2 separate regions of the Homo sapiens genome follow, and region 1 is linked to region 2. Evidence: promoter capture Hi-C in 16 types of primary human blood cells and fetal thymus (Javierre and others, 2016). All regions are on one chromosome and are shown on one strand. The core of a region is centred on a gene start or on the middle of the fragment in contact, and the rest is flanking DNA. Distances in the headings are between cores, read along the strand shown.

Region 1 (6,263 bases), core at 3,733-6,232, 260 kb before region 2:
CAAGGCCAGGAGTTCAAGACCTGGCAATATAGTGAGACCCTGTCTCTACAAAGACTAGAAAAATTAGCCGGCTGTGGGCCTGCAGTCCCAGCTACTCGGGAGGCTGAGGCGAGAGGATCACTTGAGCCCAGGAATTTGAGGTTGCAGTGAGACTCACTCTGATCTGGGCAAGGGTAAGACCTTGTCTCAACAACAACAACAACAAAAAGTATAAAGTAGTCAAATTCCTAGACACACAAAGTAAAATGGTAGTTACCAGGAGCTGGAGGGAGGGGAAAATAGGAAGCTGTTGTTCAGTGGGTATGGAGTTTCAGAGATGCAAGAAAGTTCTGGAGACCTGTTACACAACAGTGTGAATATACTTAACACTACTGAACAGTACACTTAAACATGGCTAAGATGGCAAATCTTATGTGTTTTTTACAATTAAAAAAAGCAAACAACTTATTGGTTGGGTGAATGAACTCAACGTAACTGGTCACCAGGGAAGTCCTCCAAGCCCCTGAAGAGCCAGGGCAGGAAACTGTCCTAAGAGGTAACTGAGGGTGGGGCATGGCCTGTAAAATCTACAGACAGGTTCCTAGCTCCTAGACAGTCACACAGCTTTGTTCTTTTGGGAGCTAGTTGTCTAGAACTTGAGTCTCTGCGGGCAGACCCTGTTTAGGGTCTGCATTTCTGACAACACAGCAGGTGCTGGCATATAAACGCTTCTGCCACAGAGACACAGTACATGTTTGCTGAGTCAGATGAGTGAATGCATGAATAGGAAAGTGAGTGAGTGATCAAGTAGCGTGTTTGCGAAGGTCAGAAAAGAGAGGGGTGCTTGTTATTGGATGTGCTGACTTCTCACAACACACTTGAAGGGTCTGAGAAGGGAAGGCAGGTTACCGACCTCTCATTGTAGAACTGCAGGGTGTTCTCACTAAACAGTGGCCCTGCCAGCTGGCGGATCATCTGCAGCGACTTCTCACGCTCATCCAGCCCCAGCATCCGGACGTGGGCCACAAGCCAAGCCACAGCACACACCGCCAGACTGCATACCTTCCCTTTGATGTTATCAGTGATTTTCTAGGGGAGACGGAAAGGTGATGGGCTACCATCTATCTCCCTTTCTTGAGCCAACATCACCTTCTCAGCCTCTGCGGGCAGCTAAGTGCAGCGGGTGGAGTCCCGGGCCACATTCCACACCTCTCTCCACAAGTTTGATCTTCCCAGAGCTACCTGGGCCAGAGGGAGTAGCTAAGACAACGATTACACAAAATATCAATATCAAAACATGAGCTCCTGGATTAAAGGTCTTCTTGCCCTTACGAAATATAACAAGTCATCACTGGCTGGCTCTGTGTCTCAGGGGAGCAAACGCTGCTGGGAAGGCGGGGCTACCTGGATGGACTCGAAGGCCAGGACCCCATTCTCCCAGGCATTGAGGATTTCCAAGATGGCGGCTGAGATGCTGAGACAGGCCTCATGCCACTTCATCTGCCTGCGGGTGTGCAGAGAAGTCAGCACAGGGGAGCAAGGAACGGGCTCAGGGAGCGGGTCTTGACCCTGCCCCCACCGCCACCCTTGGAGTGGGCGCCCGGGCCACTGACACTAGCTTCATCTCCGAGGAGTTGTTGAGCAGGGCCACCAGGGACTCCACTTTGGTGGAGTCGGGGCGGAAGCAGGGGTGGTCAGGGTTCAGGATCTTGCCCTCCTCAGGCATGCAGGTCTGCATCCAGGTCTCGAAGAAGGGCACCTCAGCTCCTGTGCGCGACTCGGACAGAATCACCTGGGAAAGGGGAAGGGGGGCACCAGCCGAGTGGGGAGGGCGCGGCGCCTGCCAGCGCTGGACCTGGGGCTGCACTGTTTCCCGCCAGGCTGCTGCTCCAGCCCAGCCCAAAGACTGGGGACGAACTGGTCTAAGGGAGCCAGACGGGGGCAATGCTGCCACCTAGTGGTCAATGTGAACATAGGGCTGAAGGTGCCTCTACGGACTCCAGCCCGGGTGGGCACCTGGTTTCTGAGGCCCACAGAACTAACTGGCTGAGAGGCTGCGGGGGCGCAGGCAGTGAGGTGGGGAGAGTTCCGGGTTACCTCCTTCCCTTGAGCCCCCGTCCCGGTCGCTCCCCTCTCTCACCTCTGAACCATAGGTCTGGGCCACATGGCACAGCATGAGGAAGGAGATGTCAAACAGCAGGGCCCGGACGGAGGCCGGTTTGGCTGTGGAAGGACGGGAAGGCTGAGCTCCCAGACGAGGGCAGGGGGGAGCCCGTGTCTGGGTTGACAGGGATCGGGATTTGCCTCTAGGAAGGTCAGGGACCAAGTGGCTCCTTCAAAGCTCTGAGGCTCAGAATCCTTTTCTTGAGTCTCAACTGGAACATCATCCCTTCCTTGAGACCAAAGACCCCCAGCACCCTCTCCTGGCATACCTAACCAAGTCGTAAAGGGATGAGGGGGGGAAGGAGACACAGGGATGGTCTGGGAAGAATCCTTTTCCAGCATTATCCACTTTCAAGCTCTGTGGAAGCTTCCATTGGTCATGGCTCTGAGGAGGGAGCACAGCCTCCCCCTGTTGAGCTGGGGAGCCCTCCTCCCTCCCACACTCTCCCGCCACACCCCTCCTCAGGGCCCACTGGGCCTGCGGATGCACAGGGCTGACTTACTGCTTTCTTCGCTGCCATAGGTTGTGAATTCATTCAAACTGAAAGGAATGGAGACAGGCTGCATTGACCAGGGCATGAGCTGAGCAGTAGCTGGGCGCTGGGGCTACACATGTTCAGAGAGCGATAGCTAGAGTCTGAGTTACTGGTTAAACTTAAAATGAGACACATTGCTATAGAAAAAAGGTTTTTGTGGTTTTTGTTTTTTGTTTTTTTTTTGTTTTTTTTGAGAAAGAGTCTCGCTCTGTCACCCAGGCTGGAGTGCAGTGGCACAATCTCAGCTCACTGCAACCTCCGCCTCTGTTCAAGCAATTCTTCTGCCTCAGTCTCCCAAGTAGCTGGGATTACAGGTGCCCGCCACCACACCCGGCTAATTTTTTGTATTTTTAGTAGAGACAGGGTTTCACCAAGTTGGCCAGGCCGGTCTTGAACTCCTGACCTCAGGTGATCCGCCCACCTTGGCCTCCCTAAGTGCTAGGATTACAGGCGTGAGCCACCGCACCCGGCCAGAAGGATTTTTATTGTTAGAAGATTTCCAAGGCCTAGAGAATGGCTCACTGAATGGAACCATGTTCTATATATGTCAAATTCCAGGGCAATCAAAAAAGGCAACAGAATTTGAGAGCCCCTTATTAATAACTGGGCATACTTGGAATTCCTCCATGCCCAATGTTCAACACCTCAACCCTTACCCTCATCTCTTTACCAAACATGTCCACTCCATCCTCAGCTGAAGAGAAAGGAACACTTAGGTCGTGAGAACAGGCCCTTCCTCCAAGATCTCCAGCCAGGATGCTCTGCCTAGGCCCGTGGGTCTCTGGATGAGACCCAGACCCAGGCACCTGACTCCTACCCTGCTACCTCCTCCCAACGCGCAGCCTCCCTGCACGCCCTGGGGTCAGGGGCTTGGCCTTCCTCACTTGATGAATTTCCGGGCGAAGGATTTCAGCTTTCCAGTGGCGGCGGCGGCAGCCAGCAGCAAGTCCAGACTCTTCCCGGACAGCATGTGGCCCAGGACTCCCAGCAGTCCCTCCGGTGACTTAGAGTGGTCTGCATCCATCGTCTGGGGACAGGACAGGAAATCAAGTCCTGAAGAACACTGAAGACCCCCCACCCAAGATACAGCCTAGCCACATTTTCTCTCTTCACAACCTGGAATGTAATCTACATCTTTCTGACTTCAATCTGGAAAATCATTCCTAAAACCCACCCCTGCTCTCCGATCCATCCCTCTCATCTACACTGGCATGCAGGTGGTAAGGTTGGAGTGGGCAAGGTCACGGCTAGGATCTTCTCTGTCCTTTCCTTTTTTAGACAGAGTCTCGCTCTATCGCTGAGGCTGGAGTGCAGTGGTGCGATCTTGGCTCACTGCAACCTCTGCCCCCCAGGGTTCAGCGATTCTCCTGCCTCAGCCTCCCAAGTAACTGGGATTACAGGCATGCACCACCACACCCAGTGAATTTTGTGTTTTTAGTAGAGACTGGGTTTCACCACGCTGGCCAAGCTGGTCTCAAACTCCTGACCTCAAGGGATCTTCCCACCTCAGCCTCCCAAAATGCTGGGATTACAGGCGTGAGCCACCGCACCCACGTCTCTGTTGTTTCCATGTGAGATGGCCTAAGTGAAAGCGCCTACTGCAGTGCCTGGTGTACAAATGAAGCTCCCACGGGTTAGCATTCAGTGGTAGCTGCCCTTGCCTCCCCTTTCACTACCTCCAAAGCAACTATGTATAAAAGCTAAAGGAGACAGAGGTCTGTGGCCTCTGTTTATTTATCTGCAAGCAGATGGAGCACTGGAAAGAAGAAAGAGAAGACTGTGGTGGCCAGGGAAGGGCACACTCACCTTGAGGATGTTTGTGACAGTGGGCTCCGCCCGGAGGATCAGCTGGATGTTGGGCTGGATGTTGGCATTCTCTCCCGATTTCTGCTGGGGTGCGTGCTCTCGGTCCGCTTTGCTGTGGACATCACCAGTTGGCCAAGGAAGGGAAGAGGAATGAAGAGAAATTCTTGACACGTTCCCTCGTTCAAGCCCGGAAGGAAATGCGCAGAGGAGGTGGGAAGCATGTAAGAACCTCCGAGGTTGGGGTGAAGTTTATGGAAGCATAGTCAATGTTGCAATCACTGATTTAGCATTAGTCTTTTTTTTTGAGACAGGTCTCACTCTGTTGCCCAGGCTGGAGTACAGTGGCACGATCTCGGCTCACTGCAGCCTCTGCCTCCAGAGTAGCTGGGCGCTCACCACCACGCCTGGCTACTTTTTTGTATTTTTAGTAGAGACGGGGTTTCACCATGTTCTACTGGTCTCAAACTCCTGACCTCAGGTGATCCACCCACCTTGGCTTCCCAAAGTCCTGGGATTACAGGTGAGCCAGCACACCTGGCAATTTATCATTAGTCTTTTTTTTTTTTGAGACAGAGTCTCGCTCTGTCACCCAGGCTGGAATGCAGTGGCGCGATCTCAGCTCAGTACAACCTCTGCTTTCCGGGTTCAAGTGATTCTCCTGCCTCAGCCTCCTGAGTAGCTGGAATTACAGGTGCATACCATCGCGCCTGATTAATTTTTGTATTTTTAGTAGAGATGGGGTTTCACCACGTTGGCCAGGCTGGTCTCAAACTCCTGACCTCGTGATCCACCCGCCTTGGCCTCCCAAATGCTGGGATTACAGGTGTGAGCCACCGCAGCCGGCCTATCATTAGTCTTAAATGCTCTGAAAGCACATTTAAGATTAAAGGAAGATTCAGGATTTTTATTTATTTATTTATTTTTTTTTTGAGACAAGGTCTCACTCTATCGCCCAGGCTGGGGTGCAGTGGCATGATTTCGCCTCACCACAATCTCCGCCTCCTGGGTTCAAGCAATTCTCGTGCCTCAGCCTCCAGAGTAGCTGAGATTACAGGCACACACCACCACGCCCAGCTGATTTTTGTATTTTTAGTAGACATGGGGTTTTGCCATGTTGGGCAGGCTGGTCTTGAACTCCTGGCCTCCAAGTAATCCACCCGCCTCCAGCCTAGGATTTTTACTTTTATCACAAAGATGGGTATGAGTTAAAGAGCAGTGACTAAGAGTGTAAAACTCTGGTCTGAAGACATCTGTGCTTTCTTTTCCTTCCTGTTCCCTGTACCCCCAGGCACGGTCCCAGTCACTTGCAGCCCAAACTTTCGACAGGAGGTTGAAAGGCACGCAGCAGCCCCACCGTAACAAGAGAGAGGTCAAGGGGCTCTTGGGGTAGCACAGGTGCGTTCACACTTACCGCTTAGCCATAAGGTTGTTGACGCTGGCCTCAGACAGAAGCCCCTGCTTGCCACATTCTTGGAGCAGGAAGTTTGTACAGTCACAGCTGTGAGGGAGAAAGATGCTGAGGGAACTGGGCACCTGGATAGGATGGTGAGGGGTGGGAGTGGCAGGTCCCTGAGCAGCATCCTCCCTCTTTCAGGATGAGGAAAATCTGGAGTGCCTGAGGGACGGTAGAGGGGCTCTGGGGACTTGGCAACTGTGGGCTCCTATTTCCTGCCCCTGCCAAGGGGAGTGAACAAGGAGACAGAGTCCCCTGAGGCTTCTCTGGCACAGAGATCAGGGGAAGAGCCCAGAACGCCTTCCAGTAGGGCGGGGGTGACCAGG
Region 2 (6,046 bases), core at 698-3,197:
CTCATAGCTTCCTAGGTTGTTTACCATAACCACCCCTTACAGCTGGCTGGGCACACATTACCATTTCAGGTTATTAAGGGCAATTCTTAGGTGCCCATGTTATAAAAATACGAACAGTGAAGGTTGCTTCCTGAGTTCTACTATCCTACTAAGACATCAGAAATACCATCTAGTCCTTTTAAAAGCTTCCACTGTGGCCAAGAGCGGTGGTTCATGCCTGTAATCCCAGCACTGTGGGAGGCTGAGGTGGGTGGATCATGAAGTCAGGAGTTTGAGACCAACCTGGCCAACATGGTGAAACCCCTCTACTAAAAATTCAAATATTAGCCAGGCGTGGTGACGCGTGCCTGTAGTCCCGGCTACTCAGGAGGCTGAGGCAGGAGAATGGCTTGAACCCAGGTGGTGGAGATTGCAGTGAGCCGAGATCATGGCACGGCACTCAAGCCTGGGTGATAAAATGAGACTTGTCTCAAAAATAAAAAAAAAAAAAGCTTCCATTGTGTGGTAACTTTCTCCATTCATGGCAGCCCATTCTCTTCACTTTTGTAGTTTTCAGCTGCTAAAAAGCCTTCACGAAATGTACTCCACCATCTCTTCCTGTTTAGAACCTGAATCTGTCTAATCATCCCCCTATGATAAAGTGGTCAAGAGTTTGATTTTCTGTCAGAGTTCAGAGTTCAAATTCTAGCTCTTCCACTTACTAGTTGTGTGACCTTGGGCAAGTTTACTCAACTCCCCTCTACTGTAGTTCCCTCATTTGTAAAGTGAAATAACACCAGGTTCATGGGGGTGCTTGTGAAGATTAATAAGGTGATGTAGGTAAAATACTGAGCACAGCCCCTGGCATACACTTAAGCACTCAATATTGGCTCTCTTCATGAACTAGGTACCAATTCACTGATGATCGTAATATTGTTGCTTCCCTCTTTCTAGGCTTTATGGCTCTATTTTGTTTGTTACTGAGGGGTAAAAGATAAATGTTTACCATCACCTAGAATTGGGTTCTGGCCTCTAAAGGAACCTGAGGCTTAGATGAATTATTGGCTTTGGAAGCTGGCCTTCAAATTACTGCGCTAATTTATATTTTTCATTAAAAACTCAGCTTGCCTCTTCTATATAGCTGTCTTCCCTGGCCCTGAAACCCTAGTGTTTCGCCATAAAAGATTTTAAAATTAAGGGGTCATAATTCCCTCCCCATGATGTGTGGATTAATGGTAAGAAGATGCACAGAACATAATATTCTTAGGTTGAACGAAATAAAAGTAAAGAGTTGGCTCTGTTTCTCACCTTTGAAGCACAAATCAAGAGATACTATGATGAAGCATAGTTTTTCTTTATATAGGTGTGTAGAACTTTACCATAAAAATCACTAGTTCAGCCATCAGGAGATCTGGATCCTAGGCTCTTCACTGTCACCAAGATGCTGTGACCTCTAACCTTGTATAGAAGTTTGCTTTGTACTTTGCGAGGTTGAGCATTAGAGAGGTAAGGAAAGTGCCTAGCATCATACCTGGCGCACAGAACCCAAAACGGTAGGTATCATGTAGCAGTTCTGAAAATCTAGCCCATCAGGATGATGCAAATGGGTACTTTAGGCAGTGAGAAGGGGAACCACATCTTGACACTTCCAGTCGAAGGAAGAGTGCGACTGCGCGGCAGCAAAGACTACGCCTCCCAGCGTGCTTTGCGGCGGGCCGGCCCGCTTTACCCAGAGTCGCCCTGCCGCAATCGCGCGTCTTTCCACCGAGGCCCCGGATGTAGATTCCCTCCCCCGTTCAGTGGTCGTGGCCTCACAGCGACTCTAAGACTTGGGGCTCTCTCATTGGCTGTAACTCTTCCACTGGATTGGTAGCAAAAAAAGAGGCGGTGCCCAAGGCGAAAGGCTCTGTGACTACAGCCAATCAGAATCGAGGCCGGGCTTTGGCGGGAGGTGGGAACGCTGTGGCCATTCGGATTTGGCGCGAGCGCGGCTGGAGTTTGCTGCTGCCGCTGTGCAGTTTGTTCAGGGGCTTGTGGTGGTGAGTCCGAGAGGCTGCGTGTGAGAGACGTGAGAAGGATCCTGCACTGAGGAGGTGGAAAGAAGAGGATTGCTCGAGGAGGCCTGGGGTCTGTGAGGCAGCGGAGCTGGGTGAAGGCTGCGGGTTCCGGCGAGGCCTGAGGTGAAGTGAAGGGAAAAGAGCTGAGCTCGCTGGAGGTCTGAGGTCGGGATCAGGGAAAGGGCAGGTGCCCTCGGGGTAGTTCTAGCAGTTATGCGTGGTGTGAAGGAGGTGAAAGTTGTAGGAAGGAAATATTCTGGGGTGCGTTGAGAGCTGCCTAGAATGAGGACTGAGTGCAGGGGCGGAAAGAACTGAGGGAAGACTGAGCTGCAGTGTGAGGGCTTGGGATAGAAGAGACTAAATGTGGCGGGTGCTGGGCTGAACTGGTGATAAAGACACCCCGCGTGCCTGGAGGGAGGAAACTAGAAGTTCTATATAAATCAATTCATGTAACTTTTTTTTTTTTTTGAGACGGAGTCTCGCTCTTGTCGCCCAGGCTGTAGTGCAGTGGTGCGATCTCGGCTCACTGCAACCTCTGCCTGCCGGGTTCAAGCCATTCTCCTGCCTCAGCCTCTTCATGTAGCTGGGACTACAGGCGCCCGCCACCACGTCCGGCTAATTTTTTTTTTTTTTTTGAGACGGAGTCTCGCTCGGTCTCCCAGGCTGGAGTGCAGTGGCGCGATCTCGGCTCACTGCAAGCTCCGCCTCCCGGGTTCATGCCATTCTCCTGCCTCAGCCTCCCGAGTAGCTGGGACTACAGGCGCCCACCACCACGCCCGGCTAATTTTTTGCATTTTTAGTAGAGACGGGGTTTCACCGTGTTAGCCAGGATGGTCTCGGCCCGTCTCGGCCTCCCAAAGTGTTGGGATTACAGGCGTGAGCCACCGCGTTTGGCCGTAATTTTTGTATTTTTAGTAGAGACGGGGTTTCTCCATGTTGGTCAGGCTGGTCTCGAACTCCTGACCTCAGGTGATCCGCCCGCCTCAGCCTCCCAAAGTGCTGGGATTACAGGCGTGGGCCACCGCGCCCGGCCCATTTCAGGTAACTTGTTATTGCATCGCTCAATTGGTTAAGAACTTGGGCTCTGGCACCAGATGCCCGGGGTTACATTCCTGTTTTTCTGTGACTTTGGGCCACTGTTTATCTCAGTTTTCTCATGTGTAAAATAAAGGCTAATAATAGTACCTACTCCTAAGATCGTTGTTAAACGAGTTGGTACCTAAAGTGTTTATAACAGCGCCCTTCCACGTAGTAGGTAGACAACAAATGTCAGCTGTTCTTGCATAGATTTGGATGTGAAGCAAAAGTGAATGCTAAAATAAGTGTGATAACATAATTAGGAAATAAGTGTTAATCATCAGTATAAATAAATTCCATGTTAGTTATTTTCTCTTCACTTTCACATATTGACTAGTTGTCCTCTTATTTTTTTTAATCTAGCTGTGCTGTCGTCATGCCTCAAACCCGATCCCAGGCACAGGCTACAATCAGTTTTCCAAAAAGGAAGCTGTCTCGGGCATTGAACAAAGCTAAAAACTCCAGTGATGCCAAACTAGAACCAACAAATGTCCAAACCGTAACCTGTTCTCCTCGTGTAAAAGCCCTGCCTCTCAGCCCCAGGAAACGTCTGGGTAAACCATCCATTATATCACTTTTTCACTAGCAGCTCGTGACCTTTCTTTTCTTGGTAAGATGTGTGTCCTTTGAAGGAGCTTTCTAAGTTCAGTTAAGACTTCTTTTTTTTTTTTTTTTTTTTTTTGAGACAGAGTCTCGCTCCATCTCCCAGGCTGGAGTGCAATAGTGCGATCTTGGCTCACTGCAACCTCCGCCTCCTGGGTTCAAGCGATTCTCCTGCCTCAGCCTCCCAAGTAGCTGGGATTACAGGCGCCCACCACCAAGCCTGGCTAATTTTTTTTTTTTTTTTTTTTGGATTTTTAGTTGAGACAGGGTTTTGCCATATTGGCCAATCTGGTCTCTGAACTCCTGACCTCAGGTGATCCAACTGCCTCGGCCTCCCAAAGTGCTGGGATTATAGGCATGAGCTACCGCTCCTGGCCTAAGACTACTCTTCATTTTAGTTATTTTCAGAATGGTTGCTAAGTGCTTACCGAACTCCAGAGTTAGACACTTACTGAGGTCACTCTGAACTACTTAATAAGTCTGATCTTCAATTCCTTAATACTGAACTTAGTTCTGTCAATGTTTTAAGTTACCTTGTAGTTACATGGTATTATGAAACTTACCTCAATATTTGTGAAATTAAAAGAAACAAAAACGTGACATGATGAATATTTTCCATCCTTTAGGACAGTGATTGGTAATTCTTTCTTGTTTTGGAACATTTATTTTTAAATGGGGGGTAATTTGGTTGTTTCTGGAGACATTTTTGGTTGTTACAGCTGGGGGTTGCTACTGGCATAGTGGGTAGAGGCCAGGGATGCTGCTAGACATTACAATGCACAGGACAGCTCCTTGACAATGAAGAATTATTTGGTCCAAGATGTCAGTGGTGCCAAGGTTGAGAAAACCTGTTTCAAAATAGCCTTACAATTTCATCCTACTAAAACCCATTTGGTTTCTACTAAATGCAGTAGTCCCCACTTATCCATGGGGGATACATTCCAAGACCCCCAGTGGACGCCTGCAATCGAGGACAGTACCAAACCCTACATATACTGTGTTTTTGATTTGATAACCAAGTCAGCTACTAAGTGACTAGTGGGTGGATAGCATATACAGTGTGGATATGCTGGCTGAAGGGATGATTCATGTCTTGGGTAGGATGGTGCGGGATTTCATCATGGCACTCCACAGCATGCAATTTAAAACTTGTCAATTGTTTATTTCTGGAATTTTCCATTTAGTATTTTCAGACTGAGGGTAACTAGAACGGTGGATGAAGGGACTACTGTAGTAAGATCAGTGGTGCCATCTGGTGACCAATATTTGCTGCTAAGTGAGAAGGCATTTTATTTTGGTGGTTCTGACTAAGGTAGAAATTCACCTCTTTCTGGAAGAGGCAGAGGTCTTGCACATCCTTTTACTATCCAATGCTATGAGTGACTACATTTTTATTTTATTGTGTTTCAGGCGATGACAACCTATGCAACACTCCCCATTTACCTCCTTGTTCTCCACCAAAGCAAGGCAAGAAAGAGAATGGTCCCCCTCACTCACATACACTTAAGGGACGAAGATTGGTATTTGACAATCAGCTGACAATTAAGTCTCCTAGCAAAAGAGAACTAGCCAAAGTTCACCAAAACAAAATACTTTCTTCAGTTAGAAAAAGTCAAGAGATCACAACAAATTCTGAGCAGAGATGTCCACTGAAGAAAGAATCTGCATGTGTGAGACTATTCAAGCAAGAAGGTTTGTTCTTACATGGCAACTGTTAGTGCAGCCATTGTAACCAAGGCTGATGACTCCAAATGAAACCACCCACTGGGTCTTCTCATTCACCTTCTGTTGTGTCTAATTGACCTTTTATGTCTGGCACAGGCACTTGCTACCAGCAAGCAAAGCTGGTCCTGAACACAGCTGTCCCAGATCGGCTGCCTGCCAGGGAAAGGGAGATGGATGTCATCAGGAATTTCTTGAGGGAACACATCTGTGGGAAAAAAGCTGGAAGCCTTTACCTTTCTGGTGCTCCTGGAACTGGAAAAACTGCCTGCTTAAGCCGGATTCTGCAAGACCTCAAGGTACATTGAGAGTCTGAATTATGATACTCTTGGTAAAATGATACTTGGGTGTTTTTGTTTGTTTGTTTGTTTTGTTTTGTTTTGTTTTGTTTTTTGAGACGGAGTCTCGCTCTGTCGCCTAGGCTGTAGTGCAGTGGCGCGATCTCGGCTCACTGCAAGCTCTGCCTCCCAGGTTCACGCCATTCTCCTGCCTCAGCCTCCCGAGTAGCTGGGACTACAGGCGCCCGCCACCATGCCCAGCTAATGTTTTTTGTATTTTTAGTAGAGACGGGGTGTCACTGTGTTAGCCAGGATGGTCTCGATCTCCTC

What was found. Contacts are between HindIII fragments. The CHiCAGO score rates a contact against its expected background, and 5 or more counts as called.
Region 1: a fragment that was not itself captured here is called in contact with the fragment with the promoter of CDC6 in region 2 in 8 of 17 cell types (M0 macrophages, megakaryocytes, erythroblasts and 5 more); the score reaches 11.5 in M0 macrophages.

What each region holds. Positions count from the first base shown.
Region 1 is chr17:40,025,264-40,031,526 of GRCh38, forward strand. It overlaps MED24 (mediator complex subunit 24), which reads right to left. Exons shown (of 26, transcript NM_014815.4): 12 at 5,896-5,982; 13 at 4,485-4,596; 14 at 3,563-3,705; 15 at 2,646-2,683; 16 at 2,120-2,202; 17 at 1,593-1,771; 18 at 1,384-1,483; 19 at 893-1,068. It overlaps MIR6884 (microRNA 6884), which reads right to left and starts at 1,146; the gene lies at 1,069-1,146. It overlaps SNORD124 (small nucleolar RNA, C/D box 124), which reads right to left and starts at 2,382; the gene lies at 2,279-2,382. RefSeq lists an enhancer at 1,384-2,294. The HindIII fragment of the contact is 4,950 bases long and covers 2,508-6,263 here.
Region 2 is chr17:40,285,932-40,291,977 of GRCh38, forward strand. It overlaps CDC6 (cell division cycle 6), which reads left to right and starts at 1,948. Exons shown (of 12, transcript NM_001254.4): 1 at 1,948-2,159; 2 at 3,477-3,667; 3 at 5,127-5,408; 4 at 5,538-5,737. The coding sequence starts at 3,490. RefSeq lists enhancers at 1,708-2,515, 2,284-2,463, 2,494-2,563, 5,473-6,046. The HindIII fragment of the contact is 8,752 bases long and covers 490-6,046 here.